7 separate regions of the Homo sapiens genome follow, and regions 2, 3, 4, 5, 6 and 7 are each linked to region 1. Evidence: promoter capture Hi-C in 16 types of primary human blood cells and fetal thymus (Javierre and others, 2016). All regions are on one chromosome and are shown on one strand. Each heading gives the region's core, a stretch centred on a gene start or on the middle of the fragment in contact. The rest is flanking DNA. Distances are from core to core; before and after follow the strand shown.

Region 1 (2,803 bases), core at 131-2,630:
GCCAGGTTTACATATTTAGATCACTTAAATCAGGGCCCAGCTGCCCTGTTAGCAAAGTGGAAACTCTAAATAGCCAACTAAGCAGCATGCTGTACGTGTGTGTGTGTGTGTGTGCGCGCACATGCGTGCAAGCATTGTGACACACACAGTGTGGAGTGGTGTGCGTGTGAGTTTCAAGGTATGTGGAGTCCAAGGTGACTGTCTGGCACCCAGTCTTTCTTGCGTGGCACAAGTGCTGTCGCTGAGAATATAAATGTATCTTGTGTTTGGGTGTGTGCCTTGAAGAGGGACTGTGGTTGGTGTATAAATCCCCTCCTCCAAGCCTTTTGCATTTAGAAAACCACCTAAGCCTGATCCCATCCATCTTTAAAATCGAGAACCTAGACAATTGGAGAGCTGCTTGTTGATAGGGACATGCACAAATACACATGATACCTTATGTCATGCACTGAGCTCTTATTTGGGTGGAAGTCTGGGGCTGGGAAGGAACACCCACCTGAGAGGGCCAGGAATTCCTCCCGGCCTCAGTCCCTCCGACTACGCGGGCATTGGTTTCCGGAAGGTCCTGGGTGCTGTGTCCTTTGTGGGGCAGAAGAAAAGTGAGTGATGACTAAGCATGGGGTCAGCCAGGGGTAGGGGTGGGGGGTGGCGATTGTGCTTTGAGGAATGTTAGCCTTGTCTGCAAATTCACAGTTCCTCTCTAACGAATGAGGGGCCCAGCTGTGAGTTCTCTGAGCCCCTTTTGAAAACAGGGGTGCCTGGGTGCCTTCTGTTTCCCCCAGGTGTTCCCAGAACTCCGGCATGCTATGAAGGACCTCTCTCAAACCACCAGGCTAGGCCCCAGAGGCTCCTTGTGGTCTCCTCTTTGCTCAAGATCACCCTTTGGCCTGAAGAGACCCCCCCCCACTCTTTGACCCCCACCAGCCCCCTAATGCTTTGGCAAGATTCTCCAGGGTTCAGGGCCTGCAGTGCACACCCCAGCCAGGCACCTGCTGAGGAAGTCCTCCTGTCAATGGGGGTGGTGGGGAAGCCCAGGGACCCACCCCACTACCAGATGGGGCTTCTCTCTGCTTTGTGGCCCAGGGACCTGCCACCCAGAGGGGCCTGAATAGCCAGTGGCCCTGACCTTTTCTATCTTGGCCTCCAGGAGAGTAAAGGACGCTCTGCAGGCAGAGCGTCCCACCTGCCCTGGGACAGGGTGCTGGCCTGGACTTAGGGAAAATTTGCTGACCTTCCTGCCCAAGTCCCCCTCCCTATAGACCTCAGGCCACATGATCCACTTACCATAAAGGACCAGGGTTGCGACTGGACCATATCCACTTACCATAAAGGACCAGCATGTTGCCGATGGAGTAGACCACTGCCTTCTTGCTTGGACCAAGCCCTCTTTATACTCCTCTTAGCAGCAAAGCTGACTGTCTTCTTGCCAACTGGCAGGGCTGAGGGTGCAAGGCAGGGAAAATCACAAGTGACATGGAAATACAAATGAAAATATTTCTTTTCAAGTAAACTAATGTATCTGTTATTCAAAGACAGAACAAGGCCAGGGCTGAATTAATCATCTGCTTTTAATTGAAAAGCATCCAACAAACTCTTTTTCAGAAATAAGATGGAGAACCAGGGCTGGTTTTTCTCTAAGGGAGCACCCCTTGTCATCCATCACTCTCTCGTTGTCCTCAGTGGCACCATAAATGCAGAGACTTGCCCTGTGCACTAGCAGCTGGAGGCCAGGGGGATAGTGGAAGAGGGGGGAGTGGTTAGCAAGGGCAAGGAAGACACAGCAACTCTCTCTGCCCAAAGAGGGAGATGGCACATGCCCCCAGGATGCAGGCATAGGTGTAAATGCAGACACAAAAGCCAAATAGATGCAGTGGAGATAATTCTGGGGGAGGAAAGTACTGAGAAACAGGCTTGGGCCCTCTCAGATGGAGAGCCAAGAAGGGGCTCCCAGAGGAGAATATGAGGCAGGGTAGAGGAGGGGATCCTTGGGATGTGAAGACAGTCTGAGGGCTATGAGGGTAGATGGAGGGTGGAGGGCAGAGGGAGAACGAGGGTAGGAGCCGAGGTTCCTGCAGGAGATGAAAGGCTTTGTTCATCACAGTTCGTAGAGGAGAGAGAAGGGAGTTGCGGCCGGGCGCGGTGGTTTACGCCTGTAATCCCAGCACTTTGGGAGGCTGAGGCGGGCGGATCACAAGATCAAGAGATCGAGACCATCCTGGCCAACATGGCGAAACCCCGTCTACTAAAAATACAAAAATTGGCCGGGCGCGGTGGCTCATGCCTGTAATCCCAGCACTTTGGGAGTCGGAGGCGGGCGGATCACGAGGTCAGGAGATTGAGACTACTCTGGCTAACACAGTGAAACCCCGTCTCTACTAAAAAAATACAAAAAATTAGCTGGGCGTGGTGGCAGGCGCCTGTAGTCCCAGCTCCTCGGGAGGCGCAGGCAGGAGAATGGCGTGAGCCCGGGAGGCGGAGCTTGCAGTGAGCCGAGATCGCGCCACTGCACTCCAACCTGGGCGACAGAGCGAGACTCCATCTAAAAAAAAACAAAAACAAAATACAAAAATTAGCTGGGCATGGTGGTGCGCTTCTGCAGTCCCAGCTAATCTGGAGGCTGAGGCAGGAGAATCGCTTCAACCTGGGAAGCGGAGGTTGCTGCACTCCAGCCTGGAGACAGAGCAAGACTCTGTCTCAAAATAAATAAATAAATAAATAAATAAATAAATAAATAAATAAATAAATAGAGAGAGAAAAGAGTTGCAATGTGCCTTGAGGTGGGCAGAGGACCCTTGGGTTGGCC
Region 2 (2,803 bases), core at 105-2,604, 510 kb before region 1:
GGAGGTTGGGTGCCCTCTCTCAGCTACCAGAGACATTACTTCTAAGTCCCTATTAAATATTTCTGAGAAACTGGATTTGTCAGCCTCTTTCCTTGTCCTATTGGCTCCCTCAAGCCTTTGGGGGTAGGTTTGCATAGACCTGCTCACCATGGAACAGGAACAGGATTATTATCCGGACCTATAAAAATCTCTTATGATTCAATATGTGAATCTCATGATGGCAAGGACTTTTGTTTTGTGTTCTGTTATAGCCTAAGCTCTTACAACAGGGTCTGGCATGGAGAAGGCAGTCAATGAAATCAACATGCAAAGACAAAGATGAGCAAATAAATGACATAAATTGGTACTCAACATGAAATAGTCAATGAATGTTCCCTAAAATATGAAAAGATATTCAAATACTCAAACTCATTCAAAATCAGAAAAACGCAAACTAAAACCACAATTCCCAACTCCTGCCCACAAGATAGGTAAAAAATTAAAAAGCATTTGTTACAACCTGGCAGAACCTATAGAAAAAGCGAAAGAAAAGAAAAACAATGCCTAAAGGCCAGGCGTGGTGGCTCATATCTGTAATCCCAGCACTTTGGGAGGCCGAGGCGGGTGGATCATTTGAGGTCAGGAGTTCAAGACCAGCCTGGCCAACATGGTGAAACCCCATCTCTATTAAAAACACAAAAATTAGCCAGGTGTGGTGGTGGGCGGCTGTGATCCCACCTACTCGGGAGGCTGAGGCAGGAGAATCACTTGAACCTGGGAGATGAAGGCTGCAGTGAGCCGAGATTGCACCACTGCACTCCAGCCTGGGTGACAGAGTGAGACTCCGTCACACACACACACAAAGAAAAAGCATCGGTGAAGACATGAGCAATGGGAACATTTATATGTTGCTAGTTGATGAGTATGTATATGTGTATATATATGTGTGTATACGTATATATGGGTGTGTGTATATATCTGTATATATATAATAATTATTATTTTTAGGGACAGGGTCTCACTCTATCACCTAGGCTGGAGTACAGTGGCATGATCATGGTTCACTGCAGCCTTGAGCTCCTCCTAGGCTCAAGTGATCCTCCCACCTCAGTTTCCCAAGCGGCTGTGATTACAGGCATGTGTCACCATGCCCAGCTAATTTTTTAAATTTTTTGTAGAGATGAGGTCTTGCTATGTTGCCCAGGCTGGTCTTGAACTCCTGGCTTCATGCAATCCTCCCACCTCAGCCTCCCAAAGTGCTGGGATTACAGGTGTGAGCCACCATGCCTGGCTTGAAGAGAATATTGGTGAAACATTCTGGAAAACAATTTGGCATTATTTGGAGAAGATGATGGTATTCTTTATGACTCAGTAATCCTACCACTAGTATGTAGTCCAGAGAGACTCATCTCATATGCATAGTAGTATTAGTTGTAATAGAAAAAACCTGGAAATAATGCAAATATCCATCAATAATAGATTCCAAAGTAGATAAATACATTGTGGCATATGCATATGATGTGTGGGAGAGAGTAAATGAATTGCAGTTAGATAACCACAGAAATGAATGTAAAGAACCTAATGCTGAGTAAAAAAACAAAAACTAGCTGCAAAAGAAAATTTATCATATGATTCCATTTATATAAAGCTCATGTAATGATTAATCTTATGTGTCAACCTAATGGGGCTAAGGGATATCCAGATGGCTGGTAATCACAACTTCTGGGAGTATCTGTGAGGGTGTTTCCGTAAGAGATGTGCATTGGAATCAGGAGAATGAGCAAAGAAGATTGTTCTCGCCACTGTAGGTGGGCATCATCTAATCTGTTGATGTCCCCAGCAGAACAAAAAGGTGAAAGAAGAACAAATTATTTCTCTTGAGCTGGGACATCTTCTCTTGTCCTCAGACATCAACACTCCTGGGTCTCAGGCCTTCAGACTCAGACTGAATCACACTGCCAGCTTTTCCTGTTTCTCCAGCTTGCAGATGGCAGACTGTGGGATTTCTCAGCCTCCGTAATTATGTGAGCCAATCCCTAAAATCTCTCTTTCTCTTTTTTTTTCCTCACTCTCCTGTTGGTTCTGTTTCTCTGGAGAACCCTGAGTAATAAAGTTCAAAAACATGCAAAACTAAAAAATATATTGTTTAAAGCAGTGCTGTATAATAGAACTCTTCACAACGGTGGAAATATTCTACAACTATGCTGCCCAGTATGGTAACAAGTGTCATGTGGCTACTGAGCACTTAAAATATGGCTAATGTGACTGAGGAACTGAATTTTTATTTAATTTAAATTTGAACTTAAATTGTCACATGTGGTGAGGGGCTACCATACTGTACGGCAAGGTTTATAACGAGAATAAATGAAATAAATACAAAATCCAGAATATTGGTTACTTCTGAGAGAAAAATAAAGACAGAATGAGGGAGAGATACACAGGGGATTTCAAAAGCAAAAATAATCTTCTTTTTCTTAAATGGGTATTCTTCTACTGTTATTCTTTAAACTGAGCATATATTTTATAAATATCCTTTTATATGTATTAAATATTCAGTAAAACAAATGTAGTGAATGGGGTGGTGTATACATGGATGTTTGTACTGTTATTAAATTCTGTGTAATCAAATAGTTTTATTTTCATAATTGCTAGCACTGAGACATGCCCCAGGTGGGAGGATAAAGCCTCCCCAAAGCCCAGGCCCCAAGCCCTGGTACTAATGCTCTTGTCCTCCATAACCATGGATCTTAAGCTTTCACTTGGAAAGGAGAGGTAGGATGTTTTGTTTTGAGGCTCACTTAATTTTCTCTAAAAAATTTTAATG
Region 3 (2,803 bases), core at 125-2,624, 490 kb before region 1:
TGACCAGGCTGGTCTCGAACTCCTGGCCTCCTGTGATCCACCCGCCTCAGCCTCCCAAAGTGTTGAGATTACAGGCATGAGCCACTAAGCCTGGCCTACTGTACCTTTTCTGTGTTTAGATATACAAATGCTTTCTACTGTATCACAGCTGTCTACAATACTTAGTACAGCGGAACAGGTGTGTAGCCTAGAAGTAACAGGCTATACCATCTACCCTAGGTGTGCAGCAGACTATACCATCTAGGTTTATGTAAGTGCACTCTTATCATGGTTGCACAACAAAATTGCCTAACGATGTATTTCTCAGAATGTTCTCCATCATTAAGTGATGCCTGACTGTGTTTCACTCTGTGTATTTTTTTATCACTTTATGCCATGAGATTGAAAAGTATTATAGGTTCTTATAAAACACTGAAAACAACTTTTTGAGGGGTCTATTTTTCCTTGTGGGATAGGAGAGAAAATTCTTTTCCAAAGCAGAAATAGAGACTTTCTCTGATTGTACATGCCAAGATACTTGAACGTTAAGATAGAATGATAGTTCCAAGTGTTTCTGTAGTTTGAACTCACAGATGGTGAAGCCAGCTCTGCAGCAGAGTTCTCTATTTTAAGTAATAAGCTTCTGGCTATGAAGAATCATATTTAGTTTCCTTTTAATTTAATGCCTTGTTTAGTATCAGGCAAGATGATTGCGATATATTTTTTTAGTGTACTTAGGGGCAGTAAATGTTAACTGACCCAACTAATGGGAGGAATAAAAACATAGACGACACAGTCTCTTTGGTAATAAGAGCTACCACCATTTGGGAGCATTTACCATGTTTCAGGCCCTGTTTCTGTTCTTGTTGTTATTTAAAACACTTTTTTTTTAGAGATGGGGGTCTCACTCTGTCTCTCAGGCTGGAGTGCAGTGGTATAATTATAGCTCACTGCAGCCTCAAACTCCTGGGCTCAAGCAATTCTCCTGCTTCAGCCTCTCCAATAGCTGGGACTACAGGCATGTGCCACCACGCCCAGCTTTTTAAAACGTATTATGTATGTATAGATGTATGTTTTGGTTTTTTAAGAGACATGGTCTTGCTGTGTCACTCAAGCTGGAGTGCAGGGACACGATCATGGCTCACTGTAACCTTTACCTCCTGGTCTCAAGTAATCCTCCTGCCTCAGCCTCCCAAGTAGCTAGGACTACAGGCATGTGCCACCATGCCCAGCTAATTTTTTCATTTTTTTGTAGAGACAGGGTCTTGCCATGTTTCCTAGACTGGTCTTGAACTCCTAGTCTTAAGAAATCCTCCTGCTTCAGCCTCCCAAAGTGCTGAGATTACAGGTATGAGCCATTGTGCCCAGCTTTTGTTTGTTTGTTTTTAAGAGATGGTCTTGCTGTGTTGCTCAGGCTGGTCTCAAACTCCTGGCCTCAAGCAATCTAGCCGCTTCGGTCTCCTGAGTAGCTGGGTTTATAGGCATGAGCACCATGCCTGTCCTGGGTCCTGTTTTAAATATACTGCTTTATCTTATGCCCCCAATATTCCTAAAAGGGAGTTAATGTTATTTTTACCCCATTTAACAGACCAGTAATTGAGAATCTTAGAGGTTAAGAAGTTGGAACTCAAATCCAAGTCCCAAGTCTTTTATTCTAAAGCCTGAATATTTAATAACTATATTAAACTGCTCTTGAGGGAATCATTGTCCTGTTAGGAATATATGAGGTTAAGTACTAAGACTTCTTTTTTCTTCCTATTCCCCACAGGCCCTAGCCATTTAAATATTTGTGGATTATTTAGCTAGGATGTAGATAAATGTACGAAAGACCTGTGAATTATTATTTTTCTTTTTTTTTTTTCCATCTGTGAATACTTTTTAAAGAAGATAAGGAAAGCAACATGGTGTAGGGAAAGGAACATGGGCTTTAGATTCACGGACTTAATTCTGAATCCCAGCCTGCTGCTCTGTGCTAGCTGAATGACCATGGGCATGTTATTGACTCTTTAATAATAATTAGAACAATAATAGAAGCAACTACCGTTTGTTTAGGGCCCAGTACTTAATAAAATGCTAAGCATTGCAATGCATTATCTCATTTAATACCCCCAGCAACACTACAGAAAATACTATAAAATGAATGAGTAAAATAAAGCTTAAAGAGGTTAAATAAGTTGCTTAAACTAATAAAATAACTAAACGATGAAGTCAGAATTCAAGCCCAGTTCTGCCTGTTGCAAATCTCATGTATTTCCACTGTATTATTAATATATCTTTTTTTTTTTTTTGAGAGGGAGTCTTGCTCTGTCTCCAGGCTGGAGTGCAGTGGCGCAATCTCGGCTCATTGCAACCTTTGCCTCTTGGGTTCAAGTGATTCCTCTGCCTCAGCCTCCCCAGTAGCTGGGACTACGGGCACGTGCCACCACACTCGGCTAATTTTTTGTATTTTAGTAGAGACGGGGTTTCACCATGTTGGCCAGGATGGTCTTGATCTCCTGACCTCGTGATCCACCTGCCTCGGCCTCCCAAAGTGCTGGGATTACAGGCGTGAGCCAGGTGCACCCGGCCTAATATATCATCTTTCACAATGTCATACAGTTTCATGATCTTTAAAGTGAGAGCAATGATACCCATCAGAGAGTTGTTTTGAGAATTAAATTAGTTCTCCAGCAACATGGTAGTTTACATGTACATACCAAGCTCCCCACTGAAAACTATTAAAGAGGGAGAATACATAGGTTAAGGACTCGGTGTGACGATAGAAACTTAGACAGGGAACTGGAACACGGAAGTTGACTTTGATCTTGAGGGTATTCGCCAAAAT
Region 4 (2,803 bases), core at 106-2,605, 420 kb before region 1:
GAATATTCTGGGAAATATTTTTATCCAAATTAGCTGAGTAATCGAGTAGTTAGGCACATTTTGAAGACTGAGGCTTGTCCTTTAAAAGAAGGGCAGCCCACAAACTGACTTCCTTGAGCCAAAAATTGTTTTAAAAGGGGAAGTACAGCCCAAAACAGTGATTTTAAAATATCAACAAAAAGAGTCAAATTCTGTAAAATATTTAAAGAGATTTATTCTGAGCCAAATATGAGTGACCATGTCCTGTGACACAGCCCTCGGGAAATCCTGAGAACATGTGCCCAAGGTGGTCAGGGTACAGCTTGGTTTTCTACATTTTAGGGAGACATGAGGCTTCAATCAAATACATTTAAGAAATACATTGGTTCAGTCCAGAAAGGCAGGACAACCCGACGCGAGGCAGGGAGCTTCCAGGTTATAGGTACGTTTTAAATTTTTCTGGTTGACAATTGGTTGAGTTTATCTAAAGACCTGGGATCAATAGAAAGGAAATGTCTGGGTTGCAATAAGAGTTGTGGAGACTGAAGTTTTATTATGCAGATGAAGCCTCCAAGTAGCAGGCTTCAGAGAGAATAGATTGTAAATGTACTTAAGGTCTGCGTTGATGTGAATGCCGGCTTGAGGTATAATGAGGCATATCTGACCCCCACTTCCCCTCATGGCCTGAAACAATCTCTCAAGTTAAATTTTAAAAGCGCCCTGGCCAAGGAGAAAGTCCATTCAGATGGTTAGAGGCCTTAGAACATTATTTTTGGTTTACAAAAACGTTGAGTTGTGAACACTGAGAGCCTCTGCCCAGAATGTAAAAGAGAGAATTCTTGCTGACTGTGGCCGGGCATGCATGTCCTTTCACTTCCTTTTTTTTTTTTTAAAAAAAAAAAAAAAAAAAAAAAAAACAGGGTTTGGGCGGGGGAAGTAAGGGGGATGTGTTATGATAAAGGGGCCTTGGCAGCACTCTTCTGGTGTGGTTTGACCAGGCTCCACCCACGAATTCTGTTTTCTTTTAGAGGTCACTGGAGAGCCCGGTGGGGTGTAAGTACACTGCGCTTATAAAACTCTAGCAGGAAGCTAGCAGCTGTCTCCAAACCCAGAGAAGGGGAAACAGGAATCGATTAGGAATAAAGGATTATAATCCACTTTCCTTCTGAGGAAAAGCTGGGAACCTTCTCATTTTGCCTTATGAAAACTAAGCTGAATCGACTGCTGCCAAACATCTATTAGGCAAAATTGGCCTCTTGCCCATGATTTGACTTTCCAGCACAGCCAGTTCTTTTTCTCCTCTGCAGCTGATTGGCTCTGGAGTGTGGCCAGAAGCCTCTCTCCTGCAATTAAAGGAGTCGGGTCTCTAACTGTTGATCTGTTTTTTTCCCTTCTGAGCAATGGAGCTTACCATCTTTATCCTGAGACTGGCCATTTACATCCTGACATTTCCCTTGTACCTGCTGAACTTTCTGGGCTTGTGGAGCTGGATATGCAAAAAATGGTTCCCCTACTTCTTGGTGAGGTTCACTGTGATATACAACGAACAGATGGCAAGCAAGAAGCGGGAGCTCTTCAGTAACCTGCAGGAGTTTGCGGGCCCCTCCGGGAAACTCTCCCTGCTGGAAGTGGGCTGTGGCACGGGGGCCAACTTCAAGTTCTACCCACCTGGGTGCAGGGTGACCTGTATTGACCCCAACCCCAACTTTGAGAAGTTTTTGATCAAGAGCATTGCAGAGAACCGACACCTGCAGTTTGAGCGCTTTGTGGTAGCTGCCGGGGAGAACATGCACCAGGTGGCTGATGGCTCTGTGGATGTGGTGGTCTGCACCCTGGTGCTGTGCTCTGTGAAGAACCAGGAGCGGATTCTCCGCGAGGTGTGCAGAGTGCTGAGACCGGTGAGTGAAAGGGTGTGAGGAGGACTAGTTAGTAGCAGCTATTATCATAGAGGGCAGGCCTGTCAATTTCAGGTGGCTGAAACATTTTAACATAAAAAGTAAACTACTAGAAAATACTGTAGAATTTTTTAAAATTTTAGCGTGGGAGAGAAGCTATAAAGAGAAAGATTGATAAATCTGAATATAAAAACTTAAAACTGCTATAAAGAAAAAACCTCCTGGCCGGGCACAGTGGTTCACGTCTGTAATCCCAGCATTTTGGGAGGCCAAGGCAGGCAGATCGCTTGAGGTCAGGAGTTCGAGACCAGACTGACCAATATGGTGAAACCCCATCTCTATTAAAAATACAAAAATTAGCCAGGCATGGTGGCAGGTGCCTGTAGGCAGGAGAATCGCTTGAACCTGGTGGGGCAGAGGTTAAAGTGAGCCAAGATTGCACCACAGCACTCCAGCCTAGGCAACAGAGTGAAACTCCATCTCAAAAAAAAAAAAAAAAAAAAAAAGAAAGAAAGAAAAAAAAGAATAAGAAAAAAAAACTCCCCAAAACAAAGTTAAACTACAAAACAAGCTTGGAAAAAATATTTGCCAGGGATGATAGACAAAGGGTTAACTTCCCTCATGTTAAAAGACATTACATGTCAATAAGATCAATATTTTTCAATAAGAAAAACAAAAGGGAAAATGGGCAAATAACAGGAACAGAAATGTAAACCAATTATAGGACAAAAGTGCTCAAACTTAAAGAGTTAATTAAAGGAGATACTAATTTTACCTATTATACTGTTAGGGACTTCTTTTAAGGTCAGTATAGGGTTGGGGTGGGTTTAGGGGACTGGACACCACCATACACATTAGAAGAGGTACCCTCTTTGGGTGGTATCTGATAATATCAAAATTTAAACCACACATACTCTTTTATCCACATG
Region 5 (2,803 bases), core at 196-2,695, 390 kb before region 1:
AAATAACAGGATATTTGTATAATATTAAAGTACCTGTTCAGAAACTACTTATTAATTAAAAGGGAGAAAAAAAAGTAACCACAGTGGAGAACCAGGCAGACACCACGTTAATCCACATGATGAAAGCAGTGGTGTGCTAGAGCCCATTCCTACCAACCCAGGAAAGGGACATTTCCCAACTTTGTGTTCCGTGATGACAGACTCTATTTAGAAATTGGGCATGGTGGGAATATTTACAACACAGAATGGGGCAATGGCAAATGCCACAGAACAGGGCAATATCTCCCCCTCCAGAGCCAGTTGAGTTGTTAAACATTTGTCAGCACCACACTGGATCAAAGTTAACTACCACCAGGCAATTCAACTTTCTGTGTCTCCTGATATTTCACACTAAGAAGAGCACAACATCATTTTTGTCATATTCTGCCCAAAATGTATGACCTCAATCTAGTGAGAAAACATGAGTTGGGGGAGGGGACGGGAACACAGGATTAGATTGAGAGGCATCCTACAAAATAACTGGCAAAACATCAAGGTCGGCTGGGCGCGGTGGCTCACACCTGTAATTTCAGCACTTTTGGGAGGCCAAGGTGGGTGGATCACCTGAGATCAGGGGTTTGAGACCAGCCCGACCAACATTGTGAAACAAAATCTCTACTAAAAATACAAAAAAATTAGCCGGGCGTGGTGTGGCGCTTCTATAGTCCTAGCTACTCGGGAGGCTGAGGCAGGAGAATTGCTTGAACCAAGGAGACAGAGGTTGCAGTGAGCCAAGATTGCGCCATCACACTCCAGCCAGGGTGACAAGAGCGAAACTCCATCTCAAAAAAAAAAAAAAAGAAAAAAAAATCAAGGTCAAGACAGACAAAGATGATTAGGAAGGTGTTTCAGACTAAAGGAGACTAAAGAAACAGGACAACTAAATGCAATATATGATCCTAATTGGATGCTAGACCAGAAATTTTTTTTTTTTTTTTTTTTTGCTATTAAGGACATAATTGGGACAACTGGTGAATATGAATAAAATCTTTAGATTGAAAAACAGAATTATATCAATGTTAAGTTTCTGATTTTGAACACTGTACTATGGTTATATAATAAAAGAATGCCCCAAATGCATACAAAAGTATATGGAAGAAAAGGCATAAGTCTGCTACTGTCAGGTGGTTCGCCAAAAATATTTTTTAAAGAAAGAAACATGTTAATAAAGGAAAATGCGGGTACCAGACACACAGTTCTTTGTACTATTCTGGGGACTTTTCTATAAGTCTGAAATTATTTAAACATTAAGTTACAAGGGAAAAACCATGAACGCTACCTGATCCTCTGCCCTCATCTCTAGGTCCACATGGCTGCAGTCGGAGGGAGGCGGTGAGCAAGGTGTTCTCCAAGGTCTCAAGGGGCCCCAAGGCTACAAGGTCAGAACAGAAGCAAAGGCCACGTCCACCACCGACCCACCTCAAGAGCCACAGCCTCTCGGGTCTCCACAGCCCCACTCAGGTCTCACACACAGGCGCAGGGACTAGCCACAGGTGCAGCAACGTCACGTCTTTCCCCTGGGCGCGTGTGCAGCTCGAGGCTTTGCAGGAGGCGCACCTGCGATGGCCTTACCGCCAGGTGAGCCCGGCGGGCTCTCATCGCCTCAGCCGGAGATTCCAACTGCAGGGAGCGCACCTCCTCTGGCTAGGGCGTGTTTCCGAAGGATGGCAAGAATCCTGGCCTCTGATGGCTATCTTCTCCCCTTCCCCTCCAAGCCCAGTGTTGTGACCCTGTGCCCTCTTTCCCCTCAATTTTGGGCCCAGGAGTCAGGTACTAAGACTCAACAGTCACAGAGGGAAGTCAGGAGCTCCCTTGTGAAGGCAGACTTAAGCAAATGCATCTTCTTCCAAAGCCTTCATGTTTTTCTTAATGTTGGCTTCAAAAGCCTAGTTTGTGGCCCAGGCTGCTACTGGTGAGTTTCTAGCAGGGTGCTGGAAATCTTGGCCAATACCAGCCGACCACTCCCCCAGTCCCCTGGGGCGTGTTTCTGGGCTTTCCCATTATCAATTAGTTGGAAATTGCACATCGTGTCCTGGCCTTACAACAAACACCTGTTCTGATCTACAGCCTCTTGCTGAAGGAACAACAGGAGACAGACAGCAGGTGGCGGGGTGTGCCACAGGTATTGTGCTTCTTACGCTTAAGTTTTCTGATGAAGTCTCATTCATAGGATGAAGCCGCTGTATTTGAATTCTGGGGTGAACACAATAAGCTGCACAGGGAACAGACTCAGGCGCTGCTAAATCTGTTGTGATTATAGTTGCTTTTGCAAGTTTCTTCATTCATCCTATGTAGACAAGCCAGGCTAGACAAGGAATCCATTGTCTAGCATAGCAACTGGCACACAGTAGGTGCTTGGTAAATATCTGAATGACTTTATAATGCCCTGCACATTCTGCAGAGTTGAAGTGATCATTCTCCCAATACCTGTAAATCTGGAAGTATTTTTGCCTATGTTGGCACTGCCATACTTCTTTAAAATGATACTTTAAAAAGAAAATGTGTTCTTCAAATACAGTGCTTGTGGAAGAAGTCCTGAGGTTCCCAGTGATCTCAAATGCTGAGCAGTGGAAAGGAGACTGAATAACAGCATTATGATCTGTGTTTTTACTCTGTATTCATGAAATCTGATTATCATTTCCTCTATGTATTTTTTTCTTATCCCCTTCCCCTGCAAAATGAAAAAATTCGGTAGTGAAAAGTGTGAAGGAAAGACAATTGTTTCAGTTGAGCAGATAGGCTTATCAAACAAATGAAAACAAAA
Region 6 (2,803 bases), core at 191-2,690, 360 kb before region 1:
GCAAGCAGTTTGTGATATGTGGACTAATATTCCAAATCTCACTCTAGTACTAATCTCATGCTACTTGGTATAAATAGGTATTTTAAAGTGAAACATTTAGCATTCCCTAGGAGATTCAACAATACAAATATTGGCCACTCCTAGAAATAGACTTTGGACCTAGAAACAGTGTTTGGTATGTTAATGGGAATAGTGGGAAGAAAATACATTGGCGGACTATACAAATATTAGAAAGAAGATAAATATCTTCACTATCTTATGTCAGGACTTACAAGCTAAATGTTAGAAGTTTCCTCTTTTTTTGCCTAAAACTTGAATGCCAGAATGAGCTGAGTTACAATGCAGCACGGAAAACTGATCACTGGTTAAAGTGTGGTTTCTGGATCTTGTTACTGGATATTAAAGCTCTTTGGCAATGCCTTCATATCTGTTTAATGACTAGAAAACAATTCAAGAAAAGTGACGACAAAGACAATAATTACAAAATAGGCTGATAACCAGAGTTAATTATGATTGCCAAACAGAAGAAATGTTTTTTTAAGAAATGATGTGTTAATATGATGTGTTAATATCAGTAGATACAAAGGATATAATCTGGTTGACTAAAATCAAACTGAAATTTCACTGACATAGTAAAGTATCACTTTACAAGATAGTCAATTTGACCAGTTCATTGTGAAAAAGAGCATTGTTCTCTTTTCTTTCTCACTTGTGATCCAGACAAAACAAATATCTGATATATCAAAACAATATTTAAAAAAAAAATACAAAAGTTCTATCAGTTTCATATAACCTTAAAACTCTACCCAAACTGAGATGCTCAGGTTTACATAAATATATATACATATATATCTTTTAAATCCCAGAGTCCAAGACACAAGCCCATAGGGGTGTGTGGCCATCAGAGGCCAATCGTTTAACTCTGGGAGTGTATGACTGTTATGAGGTGGGTGGGTCTCTGACCTACATTTATAGCTGTCAGTTTTGAACACCCTTCCCATGAGGAAATCTTTGCCTTTTGTTCAAAACGTCTGAACAAAACTCACCTCTGAACTAACAGAGACGTTAACGGGACACCTGGCACAAAAAGGGCTTAGAAAAACATGTTCTTATAGAGTCTCTCAGGCTGTCAGTCATCTAGACACAAGTGAGTCAGCGTCCATGGTGTTCAGAAGATAGAGTTCAGGCTGAGCTGTCAATCCCAGATGGCACTAAGGAAAAAAAGATGGAAGAGGGTTAGACTGATTTTCACGTATTTATTGAAATCAGCTTTTAAGTACCTATAATTAGCACATCAATTTAGGCCTTTTTTTCTGTACTGCTATATTGATTTTTATTTCAGAAAAGAAATGGCTTACAGATACATACATGAATGGCTTCTGATATGCAAAATAACAGGTAGGAGCTGAAATAGTTAAGGACTGAGATGGTACCAAATGTCCTTAGCAAAATTAGCACTCTGACTATTCTTGTGACACACTCTGCCTAAGGATGGGTGCTTCAAATCAGGATAAGAACAAACAAGCAGAATGCTTTTGTATTTTACTACTGTGTGAATTAGAAATCAAATTCCCAATGGTTTCAATCCTGAGCCCTATTATCCTTTGGCACTGGAGCAGAGAAAAGCCTTTCATTTAAAAAACAAAAACATGAAATGGCATGTACCAAGAGGGAGAAAGATGACCTGTGGGTCCCAAATGTTTGTCAGCCTGCATCAGAATCACCGAAGCTGCTTTTAAAACACAATTCCCAGCTGGGTGCGGTGGCTCACGCCTGTAAACCCAGCACTTTGGGAGGCCAAGGTGGGCGGATCATGAGGTCAGGAGATCGAGACCATCCTGGCCAACATGATGAAACTCCGTCTCTACTAAAAATACAAAAAAAATTAGCTGGGTGTGGTGGCACACACCTGTAATCCCAGCTAATCGGGAGGCTGAGGCAGGAGAATCACTTGAACCCAGGAGGCAGAGATTGCAGTGAGCCGAGATTGCACCACTGCACTCCAGCCTGGCGACAGAGTCAGACTCCGTCTCAAAAAACAAAACAGCAAACAAACAAAAAACAATTCCGACTGGGCACGGTGTCTCATGCCTGTAATCCCAGCACTGTGGGAGGCCGAGGCGCATGGATCACCTCAGGTCAGAAGTTCAAGACCAGCCTGACCAACATGGCGAAACCCCTCGACTAAAAATACAAAAATTAGCGGGGCATGGTGGCGCATGCCTGTAATCCCAGCTACTCACGAGGCTGAGGCAGGAGAAACACTTGAATCCAGGAGGCAGAGGCTGCAGTGAGCTGAGATCATGCCACTGCACTCCGGCCTGGGCAACACAGCGAGACTCCGTCAAAAAAAAAAAAAAAAAAACCCACAATTCCAGACTCCACTCCTAAAGAACTGAGTCTAGATGGTTTGTGTTGGGACCTGTGAAGTTGTTATTTTTTTTGTAGAGACAAGGCCTCACTATGTCACTCACGCTGGAGTGCCAATGACACAATCTTGGCTCACTGCCACCTCTACCTCCTGGGCTTCAGCCATCCTCCCATCTCAGCCTCCCAAGTAGCTAGGACTATAGGCGTGTGCCACCACACTCAGCTAATTTTTTTGTAGACAGGGTTTTGCCATGTTTCCTAGGCTGGCTATGAAGTTATTTCTTTTTACTTTTTCTCTTCTCGAATACACCTTGAGACAAGTTTGAGTCTCATTTTAGCCCTATTATTATTACGCAGAGCTTTTATTGTTATCCTTTGGCACCAACAGCCTCTAAGTTAATGCAGAATGCAGACTATAAATTTATTGGTAGCA
Region 7 (2,803 bases), core at 83-2,582, 320 kb before region 1:
CCTTTCTATTGGAATAAGAAAATTCCCTATTAGACTGGCCATGGTGGCTCACATCTGTAATCCCTTAGCACTTTGGGAGGCTGAGGCGGGAGGATTGCGTGAGCCCAAAAGCTTGAGACCAGCCTGGGCAACATAGCAAGAAACCCAGTCTCCATTAAAAAAAAAAAAAAATTACTTTTTTCCAAAAAAAAAAAAAAAAAAATCCCCTATTAAACCAGCCTATACCTACTTCTTGCCTCAGAAAATATGTTTTGTCCTCACACTTAAGTAGCTTTTCTCTGGCAAATATGAAGAATTTTCATTAGATTACATTCAACCCATTTTTCCTAATGATGGATATTGGCTCCCAAATGATGTAGATTGACCTTAACAACTTTAAGTAAATATTGTCCTCCAAGTTTCTTTTCCTAAAAGCAAAGAAAAATTAAGACAATATATACTACAAGATTCTCCAGCCTTTAACAAGCCTCTTTCTGCTCTTTGAAACCTGGTAAAGTTTTAATAATTAACTTGTAGCTTTCTTCTTTCATTTCCTAGGAGTTTTAACAGCTATCAGCTTAGTAGAGATGAGACCAAAACAAACACAAACCTGACACAAAATGACTTATCGGCAATAAGCACCAAAACAAGACTAAAAACCCTAATTTGTTCCTTATGCCAAAAAATATAAATTACTTTAACCTGAAATTAAAAGTGGAAGAGAAGTTAGGCCATTTTGATCATTGCTGGCCAATTGTTTTATATTCCATTATGATTTCATTAAAATATACCTTATTATATACATGTCATTTTATTGTATCTAGAATATTCCTGATGATGCCTTGAAGGCTCTTCTTTGTGTCTCAAGGGGCCAATTAATGTAAATTGCTCCATAAATATTTGTTAAATTATAAAAAGAATAAATGGCAAGGCTGGGCGCAGTGGCTCATGCCTGTAATCCCAGCACTTTGGGAGGCCAAGGCAGGAAGATTGCTTGAACCTAGGAGTTCAAGACCAGCCTGGGCAATATAGTGAGAACTCAACTCTACAAAAAAATTAAAAATTAGCTGAGCATGGTGGCGCAAGCCTGTAGTCCCAGCAACTCAGGAGGCTCTAGTGGGAGGATCGCTTAAGCCTGGAATGTGGAGGTTGCAGTGAACCAAGACTGAACCACTGCACTCCAGCCTGGGCAAGAGAGCGAGACCCTGTCTCAAAAATATAAAAATAAAGAATAAATGGCAGCAAGTAAGTGAGACATGGTCTGCATCTTCTAATTCATTATATTCCGCTCATTCAAATGCCCCTACCTTTTTTCCCAGAATGTTTTACTCAAACTACAGAGCCTCAGAGAGATGATAATAATGACAATATTAGGGCAGCAGACTTCCCTTTCTGCCTCAAACACACTCAGTTCTTTAAAGGTGTCATTCCCATGCCTCTCAGGGAAAAACAGATTACAAAGACATTGTCCTTCACTCTTACCAGGCCAACTTCCAACTTTAAATCCTAAAGAAGTATTAAACTGGTTGGGCACGGTGGCTGGCACCCAGGGGCTCAAGACAACCTGGGCAACCTAGTAAGACTCCATCTCCACAAAAAAATTTTTAAAAATTAGGGGTGGTGGCATGCACTTGTACTCCCAGCTACTAGGGAGGCTGTGGCAGGAGAATCACTTGAGCCTGGGAGGTCAACCCTGCAGTGAGCTGTGATCATGCCACTGCACTCCAACCTGGGTTACAGAGCCAGACCTTGTCTTGTGGGGGGTGGGAGGGGAAGTCTTGAACTCTCTTATTCCAAAACTAAACAACTAAACTTATACCAACTGCACTTCAACTAAATTTGGCCAGCATGCAGCTGAAGTAAGCAATGTTTTTTTTCATAAACTTAAAGTTTCTCATTTTCTGACTAGTTCCTAATAATGCTATGTGTATAAATAGCCGCTTCTTTGAAGGGAAGAATTAGAAGACAAAGCAGTCTTCCACTGGTGTATCCCAGATAGCACCACGAGAATATGAGAAGGCTTTTTAAGGCCATAGGAAGGGCAGATATCTGTCAGCAGACATTTGTACGTATGTGCATGGTGAGGAGGCAGAGAATAAAGATGTCTTTGATTCAACAACACTCACCCAAATTCTTAGCAATGAAAGTCAAACAAGAAAGATCTGGCAGGGCGCGGTGGCTCACACCACCCCAGCACTTCGGAAGGCCGATACAGGTGGATCACTTGAGGTCAGGAGTTCCAGACCAGCCTGGCCAACATGGTGAAACCCCGTCACTACTAAAAATACAAAAAAAATTCGCCAGGCATCAAGAGGCTGAGGCAGGAGAATCGCTTGAACCCGGGAGGCAGAGGTTGCAGTGAGCCGAGATCGCGCTATTACATTCCAGCCTGGGCAACAAGAGCGAAACTCCGTATCAAAAAACGAAAGAAAGAAAGAAAAAGATCCTACTTTGTAGATATAATTCTCTAACCTTCACTGAGTCATAACTGAACCAAAGCTGCCTACTAGCTTTGTAGAGTAATCCAAGGGACCACTGCTGATTTCCTAACATTAGAGTAAGATTAGATTCATAAGAAGCTTCCCCATTCCTTAACAAGAAGTGCTGCCAGGCTACCCAGAAATTCCCCTCCCGAGTCCCACTGCCATTCCGGAAACATGAGAAACCAAGTATGCTGCAATCATGGCCTTTTTAGTACTGGCTCCAAAATAAACTGAGTAGGCCAAGCAAGACTGTCAATGAAATACTGTCCAATGAAAAAATAAACAGCCGAAGGTTTCAGGTTTCATTTACCCAACACAGGTATCACAATAAATGACCTAGT

Evidence for each region. The method cuts DNA at HindIII sites, captures the fragments that hold promoters and counts their contacts. A CHiCAGO score of 5 or more calls a contact.
Region 2: a fragment that was not itself captured here is called in contact with the fragment with the promoter of CELA1 in region 1 in 4 of 17 cell types (endothelial precursors, activated CD4 T cells, naive CD4 T cells and 1 more); the score reaches 8.6 in endothelial precursors.
Region 3: a contact is called between a fragment that was not itself captured here and the fragment with the promoter of CELA1 in region 1, in 1 of 17 cell types (endothelial precursors). The highest score is 5.2, in endothelial precursors.
Region 4: a contact is called between the fragment with the promoter of TMT1A here and the fragment with the promoter of CELA1 in region 1, in 12 of 17 cell types (fetal thymus, endothelial precursors, M0 macrophages and 9 more). The highest score is 9.7, in fetal thymus.
Region 5: the fragment with the promoter of HIGD1C here is called in contact with the fragment with the promoter of CELA1 in region 1 in 6 of 17 cell types (total B cells, fetal thymus, erythroblasts and 3 more); the score reaches 8.2 in total B cells.
Region 6: a fragment that was not itself captured here is called in contact with the fragment with the promoter of CELA1 in region 1 in 1 of 17 cell types (erythroblasts); the score reaches 5.7 in erythroblasts.
Region 7: a fragment that was not itself captured here is called in contact with the fragment with the promoter of CELA1 in region 1 in 3 of 17 cell types (megakaryocytes, endothelial precursors and naive B cells); the score reaches 5.9 in megakaryocytes.

Annotation. Positions count from the first base shown.
Region 1 is chr12:51,345,299-51,348,101 of GRCh38, forward strand. CELA1 (chymotrypsin like elastase 1) reads right to left here and starts at 1,381. Exons shown (of 8, transcript NM_001971.6): 1 at 1,325-1,381; 2 at 497-579. The coding sequence starts at 1,340. The HindIII fragment of the contact is 4,543 bases long and covers 1-2,803 here.
Region 2 is chr12:50,837,290-50,840,092 of GRCh38, forward strand. No RefSeq gene overlaps it. Among named protein-coding and RNA genes, the nearest start is that of TMPRSS12, 4.2 kb to the right of the region's middle. The HindIII fragment of the contact is 2,750 bases long and covers 1-2,729 here.
Region 3 is chr12:50,859,562-50,862,364 of GRCh38, forward strand. All of the region lies in intron 3 of TMPRSS12 (transmembrane serine protease 12), which reads left to right. Among named protein-coding and RNA genes, the nearest start is that of TMPRSS12, 18 kb to the left of the region's middle. The HindIII fragment of the contact is 1,515 bases long and covers 618-2,132 here.
Region 4 is chr12:50,923,660-50,926,462 of GRCh38, forward strand. It overlaps TMT1A (thiol methyltransferase 1A), which reads left to right and starts at 1,356. Exons shown (of 2, transcript NM_014033.4): 1 at 1,356-1,877. The coding sequence starts at 1,380. RefSeq lists enhancers at 470-679, 1,693-2,236. The HindIII fragment of the contact is 3,129 bases long and covers 1-2,443 here.
Region 5 is chr12:50,951,099-50,953,901 of GRCh38, forward strand. It overlaps HIGD1C (HIG1 hypoxia inducible domain family member 1C), which reads left to right and starts at 1,446. Exons shown (of 5, transcript NM_001109619.4): 1 at 1,446-1,617; 2 at 2,107-2,161. It also overlaps a transcript of SLC11A2 not described here. RefSeq lists an enhancer at 1,528-2,028. The HindIII fragment of the contact is 11,450 bases long and covers 1-2,803 here.
Region 6 is chr12:50,980,593-50,983,395 of GRCh38, forward strand. It overlaps a transcript of SLC11A2 not described here. Among named protein-coding and RNA genes, the nearest start is that of HIGD1C, 29 kb to the left of the region's middle. RefSeq lists a silencer at 1,101-1,301. The HindIII fragment of the contact is 5,684 bases long and covers 1-2,803 here.
Region 7 is chr12:51,022,256-51,025,058 of GRCh38, forward strand. All of the region lies in intron 1 of SLC11A2 (solute carrier family 11 member 2), which reads right to left. Among named protein-coding and RNA genes, the nearest start is that of SLC11A2, 2.7 kb to the right of the region's middle. The HindIII fragment of the contact is 2,447 bases long and covers 110-2,556 here.